Linked DNA regions of Homo sapiens: region 1 is linked to region 2. Evidence: promoter capture Hi-C in human tissues and cell types (Jung and others, 2019). All regions are on one chromosome and are shown on one strand. Each heading gives the region's core, a stretch centred on a gene start or on the middle of the fragment in contact. The rest is flanking DNA. Distances are from core to core; before and after follow the strand shown.

Region 1 (6,373 bases), core at 1,481-3,980, 280 kb after region 2:
GGAAGCAAGGGTGGGGAGGAGATGTGGGGGCTGCAGTCTGCCAGGGCAGAGGAGTGCAGGCCTCACAGCCCACACCCACCTGGCCATCCTATCCCAGCCTCGCGGGCTAAGCTGACCATGCTCAACACGGTGTCCAAGATCCGGGGCCAGGTGAAGAACCCCGGCTACCCGCAGTCGGAGGGGCTTCTGGGCGAGTGCATGATCCGCCACGGGAAGGAGCTGGGCGGCGAGTCCAACTTTGGTGAGTGGTGCTCTCTGGAAGCCACGCCCACCGTCCCTGGAGGCCACACCTCAACACAGGCAGGGCAGGTCCAGGCCCTGCATGTGCTGAGTGCCGGGGACGTACAGTGGCCCCCACAGCTTTCCAGCTGCAGAGGTGCAGGAGACTGCACAGACCAACCCATCCAGCACTGGCCAGCAGCTGATAGGGCCCCTTCCTGTAGCTCCAGACCTTCCCCAACTCAAGCCAGCTGCTTCCCCAGGGCCTGGACCCCCCAGCATCTGTCCTTCCACCTGTTAAGGGCAAACCTAGGCCCTTTTAGGAGCATTGGAGGGTCTGGTTTAACGTCCAGCATCGATTCGGATTTTAGGATCCTTTGTTTTGCCCTGAGTTCCAATTTCCGGGCCCTGGGCTTAGAGTGTTGGGGGGCTGTTAGAAGTTGGGATGGGGCCAAGTGTGGTGGCTCATGCCTGTAATCCCAACACTTTGGGAGGCCAAGGCAGGTGGATCACCTGAGATCGGGAATTCGAGACCAGCAAGACCAATATGGAGAAACCCCACCCCGCTTCTACTAAAAAAAAAAAAATATATATATATATATATACACACACACACACACACACACACACACACACAATTAGCCGGGTGTGGTAGTGCATGCCTGTAACCCCAGCTACTCGGGAGGCTGAGGCAGGAGAATCACTTGAACCCAGGAGGTGGAGGTTGCAGTGAGCCGAGACTATGAAAAAACAAAACAAAACAAAACAAAACAAAAACCGGGTGCGGTGGCTCACGCCTGTAATCCCAACACTTTGGGAGGCCGAGGCGGGCGGATCACAAGGTCAGGAGTTCGAGACCGGTGTGGTCTATATGGTGAAACCCCGTCTCTATTAAAAATACAAAAATTAGCTGGATGTGGTGGCAGGCCCCTGTAATCCCCCTTACTCAGGAGGCTGAGACAGGAGAATTGCTTGAACCTGGGAGGCAGAGGTTGCAGTGAGCTGAGATCATGCCACTGCACTGCAGCCTGGGCAACAGCGAGACTTCATCTCAAAGAAGTTGGAAAGGATCCAGGTGTGGGGGTGAACGCCTGTGGTCCCGGCTACTTGGGAGGCTGAGGTGCCAGCATGGCTTGAGCCCAGTTTGAGGCCTGCAGTGAGCTGGTACAGCGCCACTGCGTTCCAGCCTGTGAAACGCTATTTCAAAAACAAAGGCTGAGGAGTGTCTCAGTCTAGTGGTCCCAGGCCCGGTATGATGGCTTCCCCCACCACTTCTCCACAGGTGACGCATTGCTGGATGCCGGCGAGTCCATGAAGCGCCTGGCAGAGGTGAAGGACTCCCTGGACATCGAGGTCAAGCAGAACTTCATTGACCCCCTCCAGAACCTGTGCGAGAAAGACCTGAAGGAGATCCAGGTGCTGCTCCTGCGCCAGCCTGGGGCCTGTCCCTTCCCCCTGCCGGATGGGGCAGCCCCATTCCTGCCACCCTCACCTCCAGCCTCGGCACTGCCCTCTGGGTCTCAGGCAGGCAGGATCCCCAGTGGTGCAGGGACAGTGGGTCAAAGCCATGCGTGGGGCGGCCCTCTGGCCGCTACTGGTGTGACCCATGTCCCCCACGTCTCCAGCACCACCTGAAGAAACTGGAGGGCCGCCGCCTGGACTTTGACTACAAGAAGAAGCGGCAGGGCAAGATCCCCGATGAGGAGCTACGCCAGGCGCTGGAGAAGTTCGAGGAGTCCAAGGAGGTGGCAGAAACCAGCATGCACAACCTCCTGGAGACTGACGTGAGTAGCTCGGGGTGTCACATCCTGAGAAGACCTATGCCCTTGGGAGGCCGGGGTGGTGCCTCAAGGGAGCTGGAGGACAGATCGGCACCTACCTGGCCGCTGCAGCAGGGGAGGTGGAGGGTATGGGCCCCAGTCCCCTGTCCCCTCTCAGCCCCCTTGCCTCCTGTGGCTTCACCTCGGGAGTCAGGGAAGGCACAGGACAGTGGCACTGGCAGGAGCCCCTGAGCCCTACTGTCCCCACAGATCGAGCAGGTGAGTCAGCTCTCGGCCCTGGTGGATGCACAGCTGGACTACCACCGGCAGGCCGTGCAGATCCTGGACGAGCTGGCGGAGAAGCTCAAGCGCAGGTGAGCCCAGGGCCTTGGTCTCTCCAGAGTCTGGGCTGCCATGCGCCCTCTGCCAGCGCAAGTGGGCAGCACACCTCGCTGTGGGGTGAGCACATGGCAGAGCAGCATCCTGGATTCTTCCTGGGGACTGAGTGGAAAGGCCTGGGGGGCCGCGAGGTCAGAGGAGCTGGGGCTCTGAGAACTCTGAGTCAACACCCAGCCCTGCCCCGATGCAGGCCCCGGGGACTCCCTCCCTGGCTGCACGTTGCTGCTGCCACAGGAACACCCAGGCTCCCCTCCCTGAATGCAGAGGCCAGACCTGCTTCAGGGGCCTTGGCGTATGTGGGGCGCCGTCCGTGGTGGGGAATTGGGGGAGGAGGCAGGGGATGCGACTGGGGGTGTTGTAGGTAGATGCTGTGGCAGGCCCCAGCTGCTTGGCAATCTCTGGGATGCCTCCAAGGTGGGGGTCCAGGCTGGAGGCCCTCTGGGTAGACATCCCAGTCTAGCTGTGTCCCAGGGTCCATGTGTCACAACCCCACTGACGGCCTCTTCCTGCAGTCCCAGGCCAGGTCATTAGGCAGCAGCATAAATACAAGAGTGGGGCTGCCTCGGCCGTGACACGGGCTCGGTCCACTCACGCCTCTCCCTTCACAGGATGCGGGAAGCTTCCTCACGCCCTAAGCGGGAGTATAAGCCCAAGCCCCGGGAGCCCTTTGACCTTGGAGAGCCTGAGCAGTCCAACGGGGGCTTCCCCTGCACCACAGCCCCCAAGATCGCAGGTAATGGGGCATGGAGCCCTCTTGCGGAGGCAAATGCCAGCGGGTGGGAGTGGCCAAGGGCTGGCCCTGTCCTGGGTCTCTGAGCGCCAGACTCCTGGGTGCAGCTCTCAGCCGTGCTCCATCTGGACCGCCAAGGCAGACGGGAAGGGCTGGCCCCAGCCTTCTGCAGAAGGGGCCCTGCCCGACCGTTTTGAGCCCACAGCCTCCTCGTTTTGCTTGTGTTTAGCTTCATCGTCTTTCCGATCTTCCGACAAGCCCATCCGGACCCCTAGCCGGAGCATGCGTGAGTGTTCCCAGGCCCGCCTCGACCTCAGTGCTGCCTTCTCGGCCATTCGGGGAGGGTGTTTCTCCTCCCGCCCTGTTCTCTGCCCATCTCAAGCAGGGAGGGGCCAGGCTCGTGCAGCAGTAGGGGGCACAGGCCCCACAGCCTGCAAGATGCCACCCCTCTGGGTCTCAGCCTCACAGTGTGAATGAGGGATTGCCAAGGGCACTAGCCCAGCTAGCTCTAGGCTGTGTGGTGGCTACAAGGGCTTGAGGGCATCTGGTCACTCCCTGTCACCGCAGCAGCACCGGGTGTCCCCAGCACTTCCCAGGAGTAGCTTTGGTGACCACTTAAACCAAGCTTCTCCCATCCTCCCTCCTGGGTGGCAGTAGAGGCCGGACCCCAGAAGTGGCAGGGGCAGGGGGTGGCCCAGGCAGGGCAGAGGGGAGGCCCATGCCCACCCACACGCTCCAGGTCACAGCAGGTCTGAGACCCCAGACTGGGCGGGGTGAGGCGTAGCAGCCCCAGCCCCACAGCCCGCTCCCGCCCCCAGCGCCCCTGGACCAGCCGAGCTGCAAGGCGCTGTACGACTTCGAGCCCGAGAACGACGGGGAGCTGGGCTTCCATGAGGGCGACGTCATCACGCTGACCAACCAGATCGATGAGAACTGGTACGAGGGCATGCTGGACGGCCAGTCGGGCTTCTTCCCGCTCAGCTACGTGGAGGTGCTTGTGCCCCTGCCGCAGTGACTCACCCGTGTCCCCGCCCCGCCCCTCCGTCCACACTGGCCGGCACCCCCTGCTGGGTCTCCTGCATTCCACGGAGCCCCTGCTGCCAGGGCGGTGTCTGAGCCTGCCGGCGCCACCTGGGCCCCGGCCCTTGAGGTACTCCCTGAGCAGGACCCCACACTTGGGTGGGGGGGCTTATCTGGGTGGGTGGGGATGCCTGTTTACACTAGCGCTGACTCCCAACGGTGACGGCTCCCTTCCCCACTCCATGGCGCCAGCCTCCTCCCCCGCTCCCCAACTTCTCGCCCAGCTGGCCGAGGCGGGGCAACACTAAGGTGCTCTTAGAAACACTAATGTTCCTCTGGGGCAGCCCCCACCTCCGTCCTGACCCGACGGGGGCCCGGCCCACTGCCTACCCTCGAGTCCCGCAGCCTTAACAGGATGGGATCGAGGGTCCCCATGGGGTGGCTCAGAGATAGGACCCTGGTTTTAAATCCCTCCCAGCCTGGTGCTGGTGATGGGCCCTGGCCCTACTCCAGGGCCAATGCACCCCCGCCTCACACACGCACTCCTTCTCCTCAAGGCCAGGGCAGAGGGCCTCACCGCCTCCCGGGCCTGCTGTCAGCTTGCAGCCCGGGGACAGAGGCCAGCTGGGATCTGCCTGAGGACAGAGAACATGGTCTCCTGCAGGGCCCTGCCTCCCAAGCCCCGCCCTCAGAAAGCCAAGTACCTTTTCAGCTTTTTAACTGCCCCCATCCCAACCCAGGGAGGCCTGTGTCACTCTGGCACAAGCTGCCACCACCAGCCACCCACACCCACCCCAGCACACCTCACACGGGACCACAGCCGCGCTGCCGAGGGCCAAGCACAAAGGTTCCAGTGAGCGCATGTCCCAGCCCCTGGTGGCCAGGCTCCCCTTGCTGAGCCGCTGCCACTTCACCCTGTGGGAAGTGGCCCCAGCCATCTCCTCTAGACCAAGGCAGGCAGCCCCGACATCTGCTTCCTCTATCGCCCAATGCAAAATCGATGAAATGGGGAGTTCTCTGGGCCAGGCCACATTCACATTCCCCTCCCCCTGTGGTCCAGTGAAGCCTCCGGACCCCAGGCTCTGCTCTGCCCTGCCCTGCACCCCCCTCGTCAGAAGTACATGAGGGGCGCAGAGATGAGCACACAGCTTTGGGCACGGTCCAGGGCAAACTGAAATGTACGCCTGAATTTTGTAAACAGAAGTATTAAATGTCTCTTTCTACAGCCCCTTGCCTCGTCTTGGTGCAGGGGTGGGCCTGCCACCCACCGCCTTCCTGAGGGGCCGGCTCCAAAGCCACACACACCCCAGGAGGTCCCTCCAGCACCCCAGGTGCTCCTGAGCCCAAGGTGGGTGGGACTGGCCCTGAGGCTTTTGTGCCAGTTCCCAGGTGCAGGGGCTGAGGGGTATCCTGGAAGTTAATGCCCTGCCCTGGAAGTGAGGAAGCTGGGGTGATGGTACCAGCCTGGGCACCCAGCCACCCTCACCCCAGCCTTGGGGAGACCAGCGTGGCTGGCTGCTGCTTCCGTTTCTTTATTACCTGAGCCCATCCGGACCCTCAAGACAACTGGAGCCCACCCTGCCCTGGAAGGCTCAGCTCCCCTGCTTGAGGACGCCGCACACCTGTTCCAGGACGTGACACAGGCTCTGGTCCTTGGGCGTCCTGCTGGCCAAGGAGATCTGAAACGAGGGGGCTGGGCCTCAGGCTGTGCCCGGGGGTCCTAGCCAGCCCTGCGCCTCACAGTCCACCGTGCAAGTCCAGCATCCTGACTGAGCCCCCCTGAGACCGAGGCACAGGGCTGGGGTCCCGCAGCACAGCCTGCTGCTTACCCAGTGGGGCAGTATGTAACCGAGGGCCTGGCTCCCAGGGGCAGCGGTGCTGTGTGGAGGGGTGGGGCTTATGTGCACACTCCCGATCCTGCCCCCACTTCAGCCCCTCCCTGCCTGGTTCCAGACACCCATGGGGACACCACAGCCTCCACAGCTAGCCGAGAGCTGAGCAGAATGAGTCCCTTTCTATGCCAGGTGGAGGGAAACCAGGAACCACTACCCTAAGACACTCAGGGGTGGCCAGGACCCTGGGCCCTCTGCAGGGGAGCCACTCCCAAAACCCGCTGCCAGGACCTCATCCGGCACTGCCGGAGCTTAAAGCTCCACAGTCCAATCAAATCTGGCCTGCACCCTGCTGGGGTGGCCACGGGGTGACCAGGGTCACCAGTCTGCCAGCTGGGCTGTCTCAGGCCCCT
Region 2 (7,246 bases), core at 3,224-5,723:
TCGGCCACCCAAAGTGCTGGGATTACAGGCATAAGCCACCGTGAACGGCCAATTTTATTATTTATTTATTTTTTGAGATGGAGTCTCGCTCTGTTGCGCGATCTCAGCCCACTGCAACCTCCACCTCTCCAGTTCAAGCAATTCTCCTGCCTCAGCCTCCCAAATAGCTGGGATTACAGGCACCTGCCACCATGCCTGGCTAAGTTTTGTATTTTTAGTAGAGATGGGGTTTTGCCATGTTGGCCAGGCTGGTCTCCTCCTGGGCTCAAGCGATCCTCCTGCTTCGGCCTCCCAGAATGCTAGGATTACAGGCATGAGCCGCCATACTTCGCCAGTGTCCATTTTAGTTATGGCAAAAGAGAGAGGGGAATCTGTTGGCCCAAGTTGGGGGTGACATCAGTTGTTCTCAAACTGGGTTCCCCAGCACCCTCAGGACCACCCCATGGATGGGCAGGGGCCAGCTGCCTGCTGGGTTGTGGCGGGGAGCCTGGACACTTTCCACTGTGGCCAGATTTCCACTGGAGAAAGGGTTCGAGGGCCAAACATGAATTATCAGCTACCCACAGCCCATGACTCTGCAGAGGAGGGGACAGGCTTGCCTCAGCCCAAGCAATAAATTATTAGAGTGCAGAGAAGCCTAGGATCACCTGGCAGGAGGTGCATCCAGCCCCTAAATGTGTCCCAATGCAACCCACTTTTTTTTTTTTTTTGAGACAGAGTCTCACTCTGTTGCCCAGGCTGGAGTGCAGCGGCGTGATCTCGGCTCACTGCAACCTCCGCCTCCTGGGTTCAGGTGATTCTCCTGCCTCAGCTTCCTGAGTAGCTGGTATTACAGACACGTGCCACCATGCCTGGGTAATTTTTGTATTTTTAGTAGAGATGGGGTTTCACCATGTTGGTCAGGCTGGTCTCCAACTCCTGACCTCAGGTGATCCACTTGCCTCAGCCTCCCAAAGTGCTGGGATTACATGAGCCACCCTGCCTGGCCTAACGCAACCCACTTCTTATCTCCCCCACAGCCTCCATCCTGGTCCCCTCGTCCCTCAGCACCATCTATCCCCATGCCCCCCGTCTGTCCTCCCTGTAGCAGCCAATGGGTGCCTGTGAGTACCTGAGTCAGGTTCCATCCTTCCCCTGCCCACCACCCTCCATGGCTCCCACCTCCCTTGGGGTCAAAGCCAAGTATTCCTGGCAGCCCATAAGATCCTGCGCACCCTGCCCTGTCCCCTCCCTGCCCTCCCCTCCTCCCTCTCTCCTCCTCCTCACTGCTCCAGCCCCACGGGCCTCCTTGCTGCTCCTCTACCATGCCAGGCGCCATCTTGCCCCAGGGCCTTTACACAACCTGTGCCCTCTGCCTGAGCTGCTCTTCTCCCAGGTCTCCACATGGCTGTTTCCTTCTTGTCATCCAGGTCTGGGTTTACATGGCCCCTCCTCAGGAAGCCCTCCCAGATCCCCCATCTATTTTATTTATTTTATGTGTATATTTTTAATTTTTTTTTTTTTTTTGAGATGGAGTCTCACACTCTGTCAACCCAGGCTGGAGAGCAGTGGTGCAATCTCGGCTCACTGCAACCTCTGCCTCTTGGGTTTAAGTGTTTCTCCTGCCTCAGCCTCCTGAGTAGCTGGATTACAGGCACCCACCACCACGCCCGCCTCATTTTTGTATTTTTAGTAGAGACAGGGTTTTGCCCTCTTGGCCAGGCTGGTCTCGAATTCCTGACCTCAGGTGATCCGGCCACCTCAGCCTCCCAAAGTGCTGGGATTACAGGCGTGAGCCACGGCGCCCAGCCAATTCTCTTCTTTTTCTTTGAGACAGGGTTTCACTCCTGTCGCCCAGGCTGAAGTGCAGTGGCATGAGCTCGGCTCACTGCAGCCTCAACCTCCCTGGGCTCAGGTGATCCTCCCACCTCAGCCTCCAGAGTGGCTGGGACTACAGGCCTGCGACACCACACCTGGCTAATTTTTTTTTCTTTGTTTTAAGTAGAGACAGGGTTTCACCATGTTGCCCAGGCTGGGAAATTCTCTAGATGGACCTGCAAGTTTTTGGTTATAAGGAAACTGAGTCACAGAGGGTCAGGAGCTTGCCTGTTTATAAAGCAGTGATGTGGCAGAATCAGAATTTGAACCCAGCCTTTAACCTAGTGCAATCCTTTCCTCATCCTAGTCAATGGCACATTTGGGGTTCAAGTCTCGTCTCTCCCAGAGCCCACCCCAGAGGGGAAGGATCGAAGCCTTAGGAAGCTTCTAGAAGTACTGTGTCCTGTAATCCCCTCCTCGGGCTTTTAACAATATCTTGTTGAATCTCCCCCACCCCTCAAAGCACCCTCCCTCCCCACAGTTATCTCAGCCCCACAAGAAAAAGGAGATGACCAGCCCCATTGGACAGATGGGGAAACTGAGGCCTAGAAGCTGGGGATTTACAAGATCCCAAGAACTCTGCCAGAGGTCCCTGCGTCAAAGCTCGAGCGGGTGTGATTCCAGGGAGGTCATCTGCTGAGGGGTGTCGGGAGATGCTGGGAAGGGGCAGGCATGCTGTGGAACTGGGCCGTTCCTGCCTCTCGCTCTGCCTCCTTGCCCTGCTCCCCGTCTGTAACACCTGAGCTGTACCTGGGCAAGTGTGAGTCATTTTTTAGCGTTGACGTCTCTCTGGGAGGAGTGTTCCCCTGTCAACGGCTGGAGTTTTGTCCTCAAGGCACCCTTTCGTGGCCCCATTGGACAGACAGGGACACTGAGGCCTCCGGAACCCACCATACTGAATTGTCAAGCAATCAAAAGACCCCTCACCCACCTGGGCTGACCCCTGGGGGAACGGGGATGAGGAAACTGAGGCTCTGGGGGCACCTGACCGTCGGTCCAAGGCCACACAGTGGGAGGGGCCGTACCGCGGGGCCTCAGACCTGCACCCGTCTGCAGAGCCACCCCACCATTGGAGCAGGGTTCAAGTCCCCCCCCCGGCCCCATATTCCCTGCAGGGGTCCAGGCACTCACCCACCACCTGTATCCCAGGCTGCTCCAGCCTCTGGCCAGTGCCCGATTCACCCAGGTGTTTGTGTGGCTGGAGACAGCCCTTTGTTCACGGTTTCCATAGGTACAGCGTCCCTGAGCGGCCCCTCCTCTGCCCCTCCCAGCCCTTGCCTGTGCAGGTCCTGGGTCCGGCCCATCCAGGGAGCTTGTTATGTTTCAAAGTTGGCGCCCTCGGACCTGCCGTAGTGGCAGAGGGCACAGCCCATGCAAAGGCCCTGAGAGAGGACCTCGCCTGGGGTGTTGGAGAAACAGGAGGAGGCCAGTGTGACTGGGGCAGAGCCACAGCGAGAGTCAGGCAGGTTATGAGCAGGGCCTGTATTCCTGCATCTGATCCCCCAGCAGCCCTCAACTTGGGGAGTTACGACCCACTCCTGTTTTACAGATGAGGAAACTGAGGCTCCGCAGAATTGAAAAACTGGTTCAAGATATCATGCGGGTGGCAGAGCTCAAACCTAGATTGGTCCAAGCTCCGCCACCACTGGGCTGGCCCCCCTGGGGCCTCCCAAGGCGTTCATCGCCTCCAGCTGAGCTGGGACTGGCTCAGGAAATAAACTCTGGCGGCCTGTTTACACCTGGGGCTGCTCCTCCACCAGCCCTTCCCCCCTCCATAGAGAAGGTGCTGGGAAATGTGAGGATGCAGAGAAAACAGATTCTGTCCTGCCTCTGTCCCCACTTCCCTGGACAAACATTGGAAGCATTGGCCTCTTTCTAGGCCTTAGTTTCCCATCCCAGGAAATGGGCCTAGTTCGACTTCACAGAAAAGGCCAGGAGGCGGCAGGTGTCCTTCAGATCACCTGCCAATTACCTTAGCAGCGACGGTCCCAGTTCACAGCTGGCAAAACTGAGGCCAAGTCCCCACAGGCCACTTGGGAGCTCATTAGGGGCCAGTCTGGGTGGGCCCGGGCTGGCCTAGGCCTGGCTCCCCGCCACCGATGCCTGGACCGATGCCTGGTTTAGCTAGAAGCTACAGTCATGCCCACCTCCGCACGGCTGGCCCAGCTGCCCACCGCCTGGAATGCCCTCAGGGTTCTGGAATCTGGCCTGAGCACCTGCGGCCCTACAGTTAAAGGGGGCAGAGTCCACTAGAGTCCACATGGGGGATGGGGGTGCTGGTCCCAGAGCAGAGCCCCACGCCAAGGGGGGCAATTGAGACTCAATCTGTCTCCCCCTAACCTATACAGCGAGAGTGACAGAGAGACAGACGGAAACTGAGGCAGGAATGTAGACGGACAGGCGGTGGGGTGCAGAAGCATTAAGGGGCGGGAGAGACAGAGGGCGGCCAGGTGGCCCCCGAGATGCGCTGAAATGGGGGGCGCCCCGGCACTGCTCGCTCACCTACTCTCGAAGCAGAGTCCGTACGTCCAACCGTCGGGGGTCCGTCCAGCCGCCTCCGTGGGCCGGGGCCGTTGCCGCGGCGGTGGGAGCAGCGCCGGAGCCGGGGCCGGGGCCGGGGCGGGGCGGGCAGCGCGGCCCCGCCCTCCACTCGCCTCGCCCCTCGGCAGGCCACGCCCTCCACTCGCCCCGCCCGCGCGGAAGGGACCGGAGAGTTGCCAGGCCTGGGGGGCGGGCCGAGCGCTCCGGATTAGCCAATGACAGGGCGGGCAATGTACGAAAAGGCCAATGGGAGCAGGGCACTGCGACGGGGGGGAAGTGGGGGGAAGGGGCGGAGCCTGGGGGCGGGGTCAGGCGGCTCTGGGGGATTCCTCCGGAATCGCGAAGGGGCCCGGATGCGGGGGCGAGGCCGTCGTGGGGGTGCCGGCCACAGAAAAGGGAAGAGATAAGAGTACGAGACAGACAGAGAACCTGGGGAGGGAGGCACAGAGACACCAACAGGAAGAGACCAGAGAGCCAAAAGGCAAAACAGACCAACCACGTGGTTCTGCACGGGCCCCTTCCTCCTTCTGGGGCTAGTTTACCCGCCTGGGTAATAGGAATTTCGGCAGAAGCGTGTTTCTCAAAGTACGGCCTCGGGGAACCCTTCGCGTCAGAAAGATCTGAGAGTCCATTTTAAAATGCAGATTCCAACTAGGTGTGGTGCCTCACGCCTGGAATCCCAGCACTTTGGGAGGCCAAGGCAGGAGGATCCCTTGAGCCCAGGAGTTTGAAACCAGCCTGGGCAACCTAGGGAGACCCTGTCTCTACAAAAAAAAAAAAAAAAAGAAAGAAAGAAAAAGAAGAAGATCAAAATAAGTTAAAATTTTAAAAATACAGAGTTCTGTGCCACAAGAAGGGATGAATCTAACCCAGGGTTGTGGGGCTATAGATGAATCTTTGGGGTGAGGTGGAGGGCTCCTGGAGACCTCATCAGAGGATCCCCAGGTCCAGCCTCGATTTCCGTAGGAATGAGCCTGCAGGACACACAGGAGCCTCCCGGCTGCGCAGCGCCAGCTGGGGTCCCCCGGGGAGGATGCAGCTGTGAGTCCTGGGAACCAGGCCCTGGAGCTGCTCCCAGGTCCCCTGCAGCACCATTTCCGCCCTGCAGCCCAACTCTGGGTCCCGGTTGCAGCTAGGGCCTAGGGAGCCCATAGCAACCTCGCTGCTTCTTCCTCCAGGAAGCCAGACAACAAATTGTTGAGGGCCTGTTGTGTGTCCTGACCTGCACACGGGATTCAGGAAGACCGAGGCACAGGCCTCAGGAGGCAAAAGTAAGTTAAATATCTCATTGGCTGGGCCCGGTGGCTCACCCCTGTAATCCCAGCACTTTGGGAGGCCGAGGTGGGCGGATCACCTGAGGTCAGGAGTTTGAGACCAGCCTGGACAACATCGTGGAACCCCGTCTCTACTAAAAATACAAAAATTAGCCGGGTGTGGTGGCACATGCCTGTAATCCCAGCTACTCAGGAGGCTGAGGCAGGGGAATCGCTTGAACTCTGGAGGCAGAGGTTGCAGTGAGCCAAGATCGGGCCACTGCACTCCAGCCGGGGCGACAGAGCAAAATTCCATCTCAAAAAATAAAACATACAAAAAAAAAAAATTAGCTGGTCGTGGTGGTGCACGCCTGTAGTCCCAGCTACTCGGGAGGCTGAGGTGCTAGAATTGCTTGAACCCCAGAGGCAGAGATTGCAGTGAGCCGAGATCGCGGCACTGCACTCCAGCCTGGGCTACAAAGCAAGAGTCCATCTCAAAAAATAAAAAATAAAGCAAAAATATGAAAAAATTAGCCAGGAGTGGTGGTGCACGCCTGTAGTCCCAGCTACTTGGGAGACTAAGGCACGAGAATCACTTGAACCCAGGAGGCAGAGGTTGCAGTGAGCCGAGATCGCGCCACTGCACTCCAGCCTGGACGACAGAGCGAGACTCTGTTTCAAGAAACAAAACAAAACACCTTCTTATTTCATTTTGGAGGAGGAGACTGAGGCCCAGAGAGAGGAAGTAACTTGCCTGAGGTCACACAGGCACAAGGTGGTAGAGTCAGGAGTGACTGTCCCATTTCACAGATGACGAAATGGAACCCCAGAGGGAGGAAGGGATAGGTTCCAGGCCACACAGCCAGATGAGGCAGAGATGGGATTAGGACCTGATTAGGTCTGACTTTGGTGTGGTGTGTACAGCTCCTCTCGCAACCCCAGCATCAAGGGGGTCTCCCCATCAGGGCAGGAGGACTGGAGGCATCTGAGCCTAGCATGATTTCACCTTTTTTCTTTCTTTCTTTTTTTTTAGACAGGGTCTCGATTTGTCACCCAGGCTGGAATGCAGTGGTGCAGTCACAGCTTACTGCAGTCTCAACTTCCTGGGTTCAAGCAATCCTTCTGCCTCAGCCTCCCAAGTAGCTGAAATCACAGGTGTGCACCACCAAGCTCGGCTAATTTTTATTTTTTTAAATAGAGATAGGGGGTGTCTCACTATGTTGCCCAGGCTGGTCTCGAACTCCTAGCCTCAAGCGATCCTCCTGCTTCTGCCTCCCAAAGCGCTGGGATTACAGGCAAGAACCACCACACCTGGTCTCTTTTCTGTATCAGATAAGAAGGTTGGGACTCGGGAGGGCTAGGGTTCAGTGGGTGTTAGGGGTGGGGGAGGGATGATCTTGGCCGGGAATGCAGGCTTACTGGGTGATGGGGCTTAGTGAGAATAGGGCCTCTGCTGGGATTGGGCTCTGTCTACAGTAAGGGTGCAGCCCAGGGTTAGGGTTCAGCCTAGAGTTGGAGACTCTATCGAGGGTCCAGGCTCAGCCCAGAGTCGGGATTTAGAAGGGGTCGCAGGCTCTATTCCGTATCAGACCTCA

The links. The method cuts DNA at HindIII sites, captures the fragments that hold promoters and counts their contacts. A contact is called where the count stands out against the background at its distance.
Region 1: a contact is called between a fragment that was not itself captured here and the fragment with the promoter of TNFAIP8L1 in region 2, in 1 of the 25 tissues and cell types used here (dorsolateral prefrontal cortex).

Annotation. Positions count from the first base shown.
Region 1 is chr19:4,359,350-4,365,722 of GRCh38, reverse strand. SH3GL1 (SH3 domain containing GRB2 like 1, endophilin A2) reads left to right here. Exons shown (of 10, transcript NM_003025.4): 4 at 98-241; 5 at 1,502-1,635; 6 at 1,845-2,003; 7 at 2,250-2,353; 8 at 2,987-3,111; 9 at 3,338-3,394; 10 at 3,927-5,353. The coding sequence ends at 4,123. It overlaps MPND (MPN domain containing), which reads right to left. Exons shown (of 13, transcript NM_001300862.2): 13 at 5,645-5,807. The coding sequence ends at 5,721. Among named protein-coding and RNA genes, the nearest start is that of MPND, 19 kb to the right of the region's middle. The HindIII fragment of the contact is 4,746 bases long and covers 358-5,103 here.
Region 2 is chr19:4,636,743-4,643,988 of GRCh38, reverse strand. TNFAIP8L1 (TNF alpha induced protein 8 like 1) reads right to left here and starts at 4,473. Exons shown (of 2, transcript NM_152362.3): 1 at 4,360-4,473. RefSeq lists an enhancer at 3,473-4,472 and silencers at 4,373-4,812, 4,873-4,952. The HindIII fragment of the contact is 40,660 bases long and covers 1-7,246 here.